Regions from separate parts of the Homo sapiens genome. Here all the other regions are linked to region 3. Evidence: promoter capture Hi-C in 16 types of primary human blood cells and fetal thymus (Javierre and others, 2016). All regions are on one chromosome and are shown on one strand. The core of a region is centred on a gene start or on the middle of the fragment in contact, and the rest is flanking DNA. Distances in the headings are between cores, read along the strand shown. Region 1 overlaps RAB3GAP1 (RAB3 GTPase activating protein catalytic subunit 1). Region 2 overlaps ZRANB3 (zinc finger RANBP2-type containing 3). Region 3 holds the start of UBXN4 (UBX domain protein 4). Region 4 overlaps RAB3GAP1 (RAB3 GTPase activating protein catalytic subunit 1).

Evidence for each region. The method cuts DNA at HindIII sites, captures the fragments that hold promoters and counts their contacts. A CHiCAGO score of 5 or more calls a contact.
Region 1: a fragment that was not itself captured here is called in contact with the fragment with the promoter of UBXN4 in region 3 in 9 of 17 cell types (M0 macrophages, naive CD4 T cells, activated CD4 T cells and 6 more); the score reaches 8.1 in M0 macrophages.
Region 2: a contact is called between a fragment that was not itself captured here and the fragment with the promoter of UBXN4 in region 3, in 1 of 17 cell types (erythroblasts). The highest score is 5.4, in erythroblasts.
Region 4: a fragment that was not itself captured here is called in contact with the fragment with the promoter of UBXN4 in region 3 in 3 of 17 cell types (non-activated CD4 T cells, erythroblasts and naive CD8 T cells); the score reaches 7.0 in non-activated CD4 T cells.

What each region holds. Positions count from the first base shown.
Region 1 is chr2:135,139,653-135,142,475 of GRCh38, forward strand. The region is part of intron 17 of RAB3GAP1 (RAB3 GTPase activating protein catalytic subunit 1); the gene reads left to right. Among named protein-coding and RNA genes, the nearest start is that of SNORA40B, 4.4 kb to the left of the region's middle. The HindIII fragment of the contact is 1,021 bases long and covers 1,004-2,024 here.
Region 2 is chr2:135,220,733-135,223,569 of GRCh38, forward strand. The region is part of intron 15 of ZRANB3 (zinc finger RANBP2-type containing 3); the gene reads right to left. Among named protein-coding and RNA genes, the nearest start is that of SNORA40B, 86 kb to the left of the region's middle. RefSeq lists a silencer at 2,609-2,773. The HindIII fragment of the contact is 1,869 bases long and covers 455-2,323 here.
Region 3 is chr2:135,740,305-135,743,186 of GRCh38, forward strand. UBXN4 (UBX domain protein 4) reads left to right here and starts at 1,551. Exons shown (of 13, transcript NM_014607.4): 1 at 1,551-1,707. The coding sequence starts at 1,626. It overlaps LOC107985946 (a long non-coding RNA gene), which reads right to left and starts at 2,340. Exons shown (of 1, transcript NR_163478.1): 1 at 525-2,340. RefSeq lists enhancers at 1,169-1,298, 1,629-1,688, 2,017-2,792 and a silencer at 2,089-2,138. The HindIII fragment of the contact is 10,462 bases long and covers 1-2,882 here.
Region 4 is chr2:135,159,643-135,162,342 of GRCh38, forward strand. The region is part of intron 19 of RAB3GAP1 (RAB3 GTPase activating protein catalytic subunit 1); the gene reads left to right. Among named protein-coding and RNA genes, the nearest start is that of SNORA40B, 24 kb to the left of the region's middle. The HindIII fragment of the contact is 6,425 bases long and covers 1-2,700 here.

The DNA.
Region 1 (2,823 bases), core at 264-2,763, 600 kb before region 3:
ATTCCCATCATCCTAGAACAGTGCTGATAAATAAAACTTTCTGTGAAGATGGAAATTCTCTACATTCTCTGTCTTTCCCATTCAATACAATAGCCATTATCCAAATGTAACTACTGAGTGCTTGAAATGTGGCTAATGTTTCTAAGGAATTAAATTTTTAATTTTAATTTATTTAAATTAAATAGCCAGATGTATTGGATAGTGAAGCCCAGGATTCCCCTCCAGCAACTCTTTCTCTTAACTTTTGTCACCATAGGTTAGCTTTGTCAGTTTTTGAACCTTTTAAATGGCATGCTTTGCTTACTCTTTTGTATATAAATGTAATCATACATTGTGTACTCTTTCGTTGTATAATCATACATTATATACCATTGAGCTTTTTTATTTACCGATTTTGAGAGTCATCCTTGTTGTTGCAGGCTTCAGTGTTTGTGCATGTGTTATTAGTATTCTATTCTATGAATTTGTCACAATTTGTTTATCCATTCACCCGTTGATGGGTATTTGGGTTGTTTTCACTTTGGGCTAATATGAATAAAGCTGCTGTGAACATTCTTGTTTCTTTTGGTAGACAAAGGCACTCATTTTCTTTTGGATATATTCCTAAGAGTAGAGTTATTGGGCTATATGGTGCAAATATGTTTTGGCTTTAGTAGATCTATCTAAATAGTCTGTCTAAGTGGTTGAACTAGTTAACCTTCTCACCAACAATTTATAGTAGTATAGTTATTCTACAGAATCCTCCCCATTTGATGTGTTCTCAAGACCACTCCCAGGTTTAGTGATTTTCTAGGAAGACTCATAAGACTTAGCCCATAATCATGCTCGTGGCTATAATTTATTACAAGAAGATCAGCAAAGAGAAAAGGCACATGGGATGAAGTTTGAAAGAGATGAGGTTTAAGCTTCCAAAAAGCTTCCCCTACTGTAGTTACACAGAGTGCACTTAATTCCTGTTGCAACAAATTGTGACCACATGTGTGAAATGTTGTCTTCCCTGGGAAGCTTGTTAGAGGCACAGCAGTGGGAGTTATCAGTAGGGGCTGGTCAAGTAGGCATCCTTTGCTTAGGCATAGGGTTAACCATACCAAAATCTAGACTCCCATAAAGAAAGTAGGTGTTTAGCATAAACCATATTATTTGCACAAAGTGTTTAGGCATAGTGAGTCATTTTTATCAGTTCTGGGAATGGTGGGAACCTTCTCAAAATCCAGGTTCTCAGCTGCCAGCCAAGGGCCAACTTTCAAGCAGGCCTTTCTAAGAATGGCAGTCTCAGACCTGCAATATTAACTCTTTTCTGCACACTTGATATTTTTGGTCATTTTAATTTTTGCCTTTCTGAAGGGTAGGAGGTAGGATCTTGTGGTTTTACATTTTCCTGAAGCATATATATATTTATTGCCCATTTGTCTATCTTCTTGGTGAAAAGCCTGTTCAAGGCCTTTGCCTATTTTTTTCTTAAAGCAGTTGTCTTTTTTTTTCTTATTACTTTATAGGAATTCTTCATATATTCTGGATATGAGTCCTTAGATACTTGTATTGCAAATATTTTGTTGCTTATCTATTCACTTACTTCTTTTTTTTTTTTTTTTGAGACAGTCTCACTCTGTCATCCAGGCTGGAGTGCAGTGGTGTGGTCTCGGCTCACTGCAGCCTGAGTCTTCCGGGTTCAAGCGATTCTCCTGCCTCAGCCTCCCGAGTAGCTGGGACTACAGGAGTGTGCCACCATACCTGGCTAATTTTTTGTATTTTTAGTAGAGATGGGGTTTCACTATGTTGGCCAGGCTGGTCTCGAACTCCTGACCTCGTGATCTGCCTGTCTGGGCCTCCCAAAGTGCTGGGATTATAGGTGTGAGCCACCGCGCCTGGCCTGTTCACTTTCTTAATGATGCCTTGGGTTGAAGAGGTGTTCTTAATTTTAATACAGTCTCATCTATCCTTGTTTTTCTTATGTGGTTAGTGCTTTTTGTGTTCTGCTTAAGAACTCTTTACCAAGTACTGAAGATATTTTCTTTTCTTTTGGAAGCTTTATTGTTTTACCTATATCATTTGTTTGTGACCCACCTCAAATTAATTGTTTGGTAAGAGGAACAGGTTAAGATTCTCTTTTCTCTATAGGGAGATTGAATTGTTCCACCACCACTGTTGAAAAGATCTGCCTTTTCCCATTGAGTGGCAGTGATATCTTTGATGTAAATCAAGCAACTGTATGTGTTTTGGTCTATTTCTGGACTATTTATTCTGTTCCGTTGGTCTCTGTCGTGTGCCAGTAATGTACTGTCATCATTATTGTAGCTTTATAATAAGTCTATCTGGTAGTGTAAATCTTCTAACTTTGTTACTCTTCAACATTATCTTAGCTATTCTAGGTCCTTTGCATTGTTATATCAATTTGAGAATCAGCTTGTTAATTTTTATAAACAAACACATATTCAAAATCTTGCTGGGATTTTAATTCAGATTGCATTGAATTTGTAGATCAATTTATGGAGAATTGACATCTTAATATTGAGTCCATTAAATATCTTCAATTTTATTTAAAGTTTCTGTTCATTTATCTCATTAGTGTTTTAGTTTTCAATGTAGAGGTCTTACATATCTTTCATTAGATATATTTCCAAGGTATTTGTAATTTCTTAAATGGTTTTATAAATGGTATTTTAAAAGTTCATTTTCCAATTTTTTTCCCTTGATAGATATAAACAGTTGATTTTTATATATTGACCTTGGATATAACAATCTTGCTACATTGACTTATTAGTAGTTTAGAGATTATTTGGAGTTTTCTACATACACAATCATGTCGTCTTTTAGTAAAGATGA
Region 2 (2,837 bases), core at 139-2,638, 520 kb before region 3:
TAAACCCTGATATAGACTTGGGATTCTAGCTGAAATGAACAGTTCTAATATGACACAGGATGCTAAATGTCTGTTACTACTCTTCCTTTAAAGGGATATCCTTTTAGGCAGTGAACTAGGAATTTATTTTTTTTTTTTTTTTGAGACAGAGTCACACTCTTTTGCCCAGGCTGGAGTGCAGTGGCACGATCTTGGCTCACTGCAACCTGTACCTCCCGGGTTCAAGCGATTCTCCTGCCTCAGCCTCCCAAGTAGCTGGGATTACTGGTGCCTGCCACCATGCCCAGATAATTTTTGTATTTTTAGTAGAGTCGGGGTTTCACCATATTGGCCAGGCTGGTCACGAATTCCTGACCTCAGGTGATCCGCCTGCCTCGGCCTCCCAGAGTGTTGGGATTACAGGTGTGAGCCACTGTGCCCAGCCTTACTTCAGCTCTTTTAAGGTGAAAAGGAAAGCTTTCATCTCAGCTCTACTCTGGTTGTGAAAAGATATGTCAACAACTCATCTGCTTAGTGTCTTGTGTTTGGAAAATTATTTGGGTGATAACATTTTATGGTAAAGGGACATGTAAGTATTTAGAACAGTCATAAAAATATATTTGAGACCATTAACAGAGATGTCAAGAAGAAGCAGGCTACTAGGCTGGTGGCAGAGCCTGAATACGGGTCAGTGAGGTGGTCGCTGTGGTTTGGTTTGGCAGCAGGTGCATTATACCCTCTACCAGGAGCTTGCAGTTCTCTCCGTCTCCACCCCAACGGGGATAAAACATTGATCAGGTAATCCAAGAGGCAGAGCTTTCATTGTATAGAGTAAAAAAAGATTAAAGAATTTAAGGGCTTCTGGATTTCTGTGGTATGCTCTGCCTGGTGTCTGTCCTTTGGTTTCTCTACCCTCTTGGGACCATTTCTCTGTCCCTCTCATGTGATGGTCTGAGAAAGAGGCATGGCCTAAAGATCCCCCAACATGGGGCATGAGGGTGGCTCAGGCACTTAAACCTGCCTCAAGATGAATAAAGGAGTCATTGGTGCTCCCTGCAGCCTGGTTCACCATGTCAGAGGCTCCACTTGGTAGACCAGGCTCCAAACCTATAAGAGGAGCATTGATTACTGCCTGGCTTGGTTCTTGGTGTCTCTCTCTCAGTTATTGTCCATGCTAGAGGCTGCTTGGGGATTCTGGTATTCAAAATCCTAGCCATCTCCTCCTAAAAGAATATTATTACATGGTACACTATCTATCTATATCTATATTCGGTTTAGTAGAAAACCTGTAACTGAAAGTTTGGTCATCTCCAACATATTATCTTTTAAACATCGATATAATGGACCATGAGTTTTAAAAGTTTCAAATACTATCTTATATACTTATAAAGATTAGAAATTTAAAATTTTAGGCTGGGCGTGGTGGCTCACGTTTGTAATCCCAGCACTTTGGGAGGCTGAGGCAGGCAGATCACGAAGTCAGGAGTTCAAGACCAGGCTAGACAACACAGTGGAACCCTGTCTCTACTAAAAATAGAAAAATTAGCTAGGTGTGGTGGTGGGTGCTGCAATCCCAGCTATTCGGGAGGCTGAGGCAGGAGAATCACTTGAACCTGGGAGGCAGAGGTTGCAGTGAACCGAGATCGCACCACTGCACTCCAGCCTGGGTGACAGAGCTAGACTCAGTCTCAAAAAAAAAAAAAAAGAAATTTAAAATTTTAGACCAAATAAAAGTATTCATAATCTATCCAGGCCATAGATTCTCACATGGTTCCTGTGATCCTTTCAGAAAGTCATAAGTGTTTTCATACTAATAGTAAGATACTGTTTGCCTTTTCCACTCTCATTCTTTCACAAATGTATGGTGACTTTTTCCAGTGGCTACATGAAATGCTATCTCAACAAACTGAACGCAGAGATGGATATGGGAATCCCACTGTTTTCCATTAAGACTTTAGAGAAAATTGCTAAACATTTAAAACAATGACATTCTTCTCACTAAATATTTTTTTGACTTGGAAAATATAATTATTTTAAATAAAAAATGTTATTTTTATATATATATAATGGGTTTGTTTCTCTTAAAATATGCATTTACTCACTTAAAAATAATTGTTGGCCAGGCATAGTGGCTCACGCCTATAATCCTAGCACTTTAGGAGGCTGAGGCGGGCGGACTGTTTGAACCCAGGAGTTTGAGACCAGTCTGGGCAACACAGCAAGACCCTCTCTCTCCAAAAACAAACAAACAAACAAAAAACGGCCAGGTGGGTGGCTCACACCTGTAATCCCCGCACTTCGGGAGGCTGAGGTGGGTGGATCACAAGGTCAAGAGGTCGAGACAAGCTTGGCCAATATGGTGAAACATCATCTCTACTAAAAATACAAAAATTAGCCAGGCATGGTGGTGGGCACCTGTAGTCCCAGCTACCTGGAGGCTGAGGCAGGAGAATCGTTTGAACCCAGGAGGCAGAGGTTGCAGTGAGCCGAGATTGCACCACTGCACTCTAGCCTGGGCAACGGAGCGAGACTGTCCTAAAAAAAACAAAAAATACAAAACAGAAATAGAAAAATGTAATTGTTAATTATTCACATTTAAGTGAATAAATGAAAAAAACATTTTTTTTTTTTTGAGACAGAGTCTCATTTTGTCACCCAGGCTGGAGTGCAGTGGCGCGATCTTGGCTCACTGCAACCTCTGCCTCCCAGGTTCAAGCGATTCTCCTGCCTCAGCCTCCTGAGTAGCTACGATTAAAGGCACTTGCTACCACACCCAGCTAATTTTCATATTTTTAGTAGAGGTGGGGGGTTTCACCACGTTGGCCAGGCTGCTCTCAAACTCCTGACCTCAGGTGATC
Region 3 (2,882 bases), core at 301-2,800:
AATTACCCTTCTGTGACATTTATCATCACTCATAATTACTTATTCAATGTCTGTCTTCCTGACTAGACTGTACAGTCACAAAGACAGGGCCTTCTTCTGACTGCCTCACCTCCTTATCAGTGCCAGGCACAATGCCTAGCTCATAAAAGATGAGTGATAAACACTTGACAAATGAATATAAAACTATGAAGGATTCTTATTTAATTCTAAAATTAGAGATAATTAAAGACATAGCTCTATTGGAATAATTTCTAGATTGATCAAATTTCCAGAAGTCCATTAAAGTTGATGTTAAAGGTCAATTCTAATTTTTCTGTAGGATTGTTGTCCTATAGAAGCAACTGTCCCTAATCAGCATTATGTCTCAGTTTATAATAACACTATATACGAGAGGCCTGATTGGGAAAAAAAGTACAAAAATCGGAGTGCAAATAATTAGCTATTTTTAGGGAAAATATCTGTAGGAAAGGTGGTATATTCAGATGTATCACTTCCTTTATCTTGCAAAGATTGTCAGATAGATGTACTGCTGGAGGATAAATTTAATTGATGTAGAATTTAACATAATAGTATATGCAACTTTAAATAAACCATGCAAGCCTTTAGCTAATAGTTATTACAGACCATGTGATTTCATGAAAGTATTAAATATGGATCAGTTTTCATTTAATGGCAGCCAATCACAAAGCGCCACATCTTGATTATAGGACATTCTCCCAGAAAATTGGAAAATAAATCACTATCTAGTCTCTTTTGTATTACCATGGAAAGTAGCTGGAAAAGAAATAATCTATTCTCTGCTTTGTGTTACTTTAAAAAGTAGCTGTGGCAATAGCCTAACGCGTTTTGAAGTTTTGAAATGATCTCTATCCAGTGTCTAGGAAATTGCTGAAGGCCTGCGTTCTACCAATTCCTCCGCTTAGGCACATGGACTACAGGTTATTAAAGAAGGTGACTTGCGGTTTTTATCCCGTTTTTCTGCAAGGTTGGGCTACGTTCAGAAGAAATCAAAGCCTCGGAGTTAATCCCGACAAAGCCCATTTAGTTCCATGCGAGGACTATTTCCTCCACACTGAGAGTCTCAACGAGGCCGAGAATAGCATATGCCAGTTGGAGTGACACTTATTTCTCCCTCTCCCCTTTATAGAATGTGTAGTGGCCCTCACTACTGCCCCCTTTAGCTGTGCCTCAGAACCCACAGTTACATGCTCCACAATATGGAGGCGAATAAGCCTAAGTGGACTACAATTCCCATCATGCCTCACTGCAGGCGCCGCCGACGTGTCTTAGCGGTTAGTCATCCCTCTTACCGCTTTCCTCCACTTCCTGGACTGCGCGACCGGAGGCCTAGCGGGCGCGCGCCCGCACCATCGACTCGCCAACGAGAGAAGGTCCTGGGGCACGGACACCGACGGGTTGCGACTGTGACGTGAGGTGTTCTCGCGCGCGCTAGCGCGCGTCTCCGGGTGCCGCTGACGGGCGTGCGCGCTTGTGCGGAGCCGGAGGTGGGGGCCGAACCAGCCAAGGTTGCGGGGGCCGCAGAGCCGGACGAAGACGGAGGGCGGAGCCGGCTTCGGGACTGCGGAGACTACACACCGAGCGAGCGCCTGGGCCCGAAGGGAGCGATGCTGTGGTTCCAGGGCGCCATTCCGGCCGCCATCGCGACGGCCAAAAGGAGCGGCGCGGTCTTCGTGGTGTTCGTGGCAGGTGAAGGAGGCAGGGGTTCGAGAGGCGGCCGGGACACCCCTCCGGCCTACCTTCATCCTCTTGTATACCTCAGCCGCCGGCCCGCCCTCCCCGAGACGCGGGCTCCTGTCGGCTCGCACAATTGCCACTACTACCCCGCGCCCCAGGGACGGCTGCGACTCCGCCGCCAGATCCCCCAGAGGGGCCATGCAGACCCTCAGCGCCCTGCTCCTTCAGGCCCCGGGCGCCCCCAGCCTTTCCTCAGTGTCTGCGAGGCCCGGGCTGCCGGCCCGTGGCTGTTCAGCGCCTCCCCGGTTCGTTTGAGATACAGTGGGCCTGGCCCCACCGCTGCGTCTCCCGGCAGCCGGGCCGGAGGCACCGTCTGGCCCTGGTCTCCAAAGCGCCCCGAGGCCCGCCGAAATCTCCCCGCTCGGGGCGACGGACGCGGCCAGCAGGCCCCAGCCGCCCAGCCCCGCTCGTCGCCCCGAGCCTCTCCCCTGCGCAGCCAGACCCCCGCGACCCTCTCCCTGACGTCCCTCTCTGTCACCAAGGACCCTCTTTGTGCTGCTTGAACGCCCGTTTCGTTACTGCTGTTTAGATGGAGGTAGGAACGGGCCATTAGGCAAGCAGTTGGGTTGTAATTAGTTGTGGACTGTCGGGAAGAAAGCTGTGTCATCGATAAGCAACAAAGAGAAACCACCTGATGTTCACGGTTACTGGTGTTAGTACGTTCCTGAAACGTAAACTTTTGAGCTGAATAGAGGTTTAATTTTTCTTTATGGCAGTCTTGGTAGGGGATCTAGTGTGAAATAATGTAAGTTTAAAAAAAATCCATTAGTTTCAAAGAAAATAGACGTTCAGTCCTTGGTTTCTTCCCTTTGTTGTCTTCTTAGGCTAAAATCTACACGACTTTGAGAACGTTTATTAACTCATATATTCTCTGTTGCTCTAGGCTATTTTGCTCCATATTCTCCTGTTTTATTACTGAAATCTTGTAGATTTACAGTGAACTCCCTGCCTCTACGGTTCTGCTCATACTCATTACATGGACCAAATCAATGTTTGTGGCTGTTGTTAATTTGAGGTGTATTTCTTCAACTATTTGTGTTTAATAACGGTTTATTCATAATTAACTCGTCTTTTAATAGCTCTATAACTTTATGCACTGCAGTGAAGAACGAATTACTGAAATGTGA
Region 4 (2,700 bases), core at 201-2,700, 580 kb before region 3:
GAAAATGACATTAGATAAAAACTAAGGAAACCGCGTACATACATACATGCTGACAGCATTATTCATGACAGCCAAAAAATGGAACAAACCCAAATGTCTGTCAGTGATGAACAGATAAGACAAATATGGTCTGTCCATGCAATGGAGTATTATTCAGCCATAAAAAGGAATGAAGCACTGATATGTGTTACAACATGGGTGAATCTTGAAAATATTATGCTCAGTGAAAGCAGCCAGAAAACAATGGGCTGCATGTTGCGTCGTTCCATTTATATGAAAGGACCAGAATAGGCAAGTCCATAGAGACAGTAAGTTAGATTAGTAGTTGGCAGCAGTGGAGATTAGGAATGGGGGAAATCAGGAGTGGCTGCTTTGGGGTACTGGGTTTCTTTTGGGGGAGATGAAAGAAAATATTCTGGAATTAGATAATGGTGATGGTAACATAACCTTGCAAATATGCTAAAAACCACTGAAGTTATCCATTTTAAAGTGGTGAATTTTATGGTATGTGAGTTATAACTCAATTTTTAGAAACTAAGGAAATCTGAATACAGTATGGAATTTTAGTTAGCCAAAAAGTAGGGAGGAAGAGGAAACTATACTCAAAATGCCAATGTTATAAAAGACAGAGTGAAAAGCTGTTGCAGATTAGTTGAGATTAAAGAGCTATGATAACTAAAGGCAATGGATGATCCTTACCAAGACTTGTAGTGGTTGAGGGAAAGGGTCATAAAAGACACATTTTGCGGCCGGGCGCGGTGGCTCATGCCTGTAATCTCAGCACTTTGGGAGGTTGAGGTAGGTGGATAATTTGAGGTCAGGAGTTCGAGACCAGCCTGGCCAACATAGTGAAACTCCGTCTTTACTAAAAATACAAAAATTGGCCGGGCAGTAGTGGCCATGTGCCTGTAGTCTTAGCTACTCAGGAGGCTGAGGCAGGAGAATCGCTTGAGCCTGGGAGGCGGAGGTTGTGGGGAGCCAAGATCGCACCACTGCACTCCAGTCTGGGCCAACAGAGAAAGACCCTGTCTCAAAAAAAAAAAAAAAAAAAAAAAAAAGACACATATGGGATCAGTTGACAAAACTGCAATAAAGATAGTAGGTTAGATTACAATTATTTTTATCAGTGTTAAATTTATTGTATATAATCAGAATCATTTGCATTTTGATTATATAATAAAATATTTTTAATTTTAGGAAATACAGATATTTTGGGATAAGGGACATGAGTGTGCGACTTATTCTGAAATTATTCGAAACAAGTTTATGTCTATAGTATGTACACACATGAAAGCAGAGAAAGATGCAAGGGATCCAGAACAGAGGAGGGAGACAGGTCATACGTGAATCCAGGTAAAGGGGAATCACATATTTCACGTTATTCCTGCAAATTTGTTTTTCTGTGAATCAGGGGAAAACAAAATTCAGAAAGGTGGGTATTAGCAAGGATGTACAACAGAGGGAACTCATTACTCTAGATAAGAATGTAAATCTGTTGAAACACTTTGTAGGATAATTATGTTGTACATTTCCTAGTTCAATTGTTAGGTATATATCCTAAAGTAATTGCTGTACATGTCCCATTTGCACCAGGAAATATGTGCAATAATGTAATAGGAGCATCATTTGTAATAGCCAAAAACTGAGGAGCTATCCACTACTATTAGTGTAGGAACATTTTAATACAGCAGTGAAAATGAGTAAACTATAGCATATTGGAATGGTATACGAATATCAAAATACTGAATGAAAAAAAGCAAGTCACTGAGGGCTATAAACAGAAACACTCCATTAATATAAAGGTTAAAACTAGACAAAAGTAAACAATATATTATTTAAGGCTACATATGTGAAAAAAACCATAAAGAAAAGCAAAAGAATGATTTGTAGTTAATTCTGGGGATGGAGGGTACACAGGAGGACTTGGAAAAGCCTGGTAACATTCTGTTTCCTAAGCTGGTGTTTTCTTTAAACTATTTCTAATACTCTAGTATGTATATTTCTTAATTTAAAAAAAGTTTCAAATCAGACAAAACTCTCTAAGCCAAAAAAAAGTCCACCACAAGTCATTAAATAAAGCAAATAATAAAACAGTATGTAAGTTATTAATTTTTGTTAAGAAATTACATATGCATCTACATTTTTGTGTTTAAATGGACATACAAGTAGTTTGAGAGGATAAACACGAAAATGTGGTTTTGGGGAAGTAGGATTTCAGGAAAATTTCTGCATCACCTGTATTTTTTTTAAAATTTTGAAATCCATGAGCATTTATCAGTCAGACTCACATTATGAGATTATACTTCTTAAAATTTTTATTGATGTAAAAGAATTGTACATATTTATAGGGTTATACTTCTTTTATCTTTACTGTTGAATAAGGAGCCTAAAGGTAGGGTCCATGTTTTGTACATACTTCTCTGTATTCTTATAATAAGAATTGGAAAAAAAATAAACCAAAACAACTAAAACCAAAAAATGTGTGGGAAGTCACTAACAATGTTTAGAAATATTAAGTGAGAAAAGCAGGTTAAAAGGCAGTATTTTACATATTTAATATTAGTGCCCTTAGTACGTGTATTCTGCGTCTTAAAATGAAAATGCTCCACTGTCAATGGTTGTTTTCTCTTGGTATTGTAATCAGTCGGTAGTTTTTATTTTCTTTGTATTTTCCTTATTTGTGTGTATTACATAAGAAAG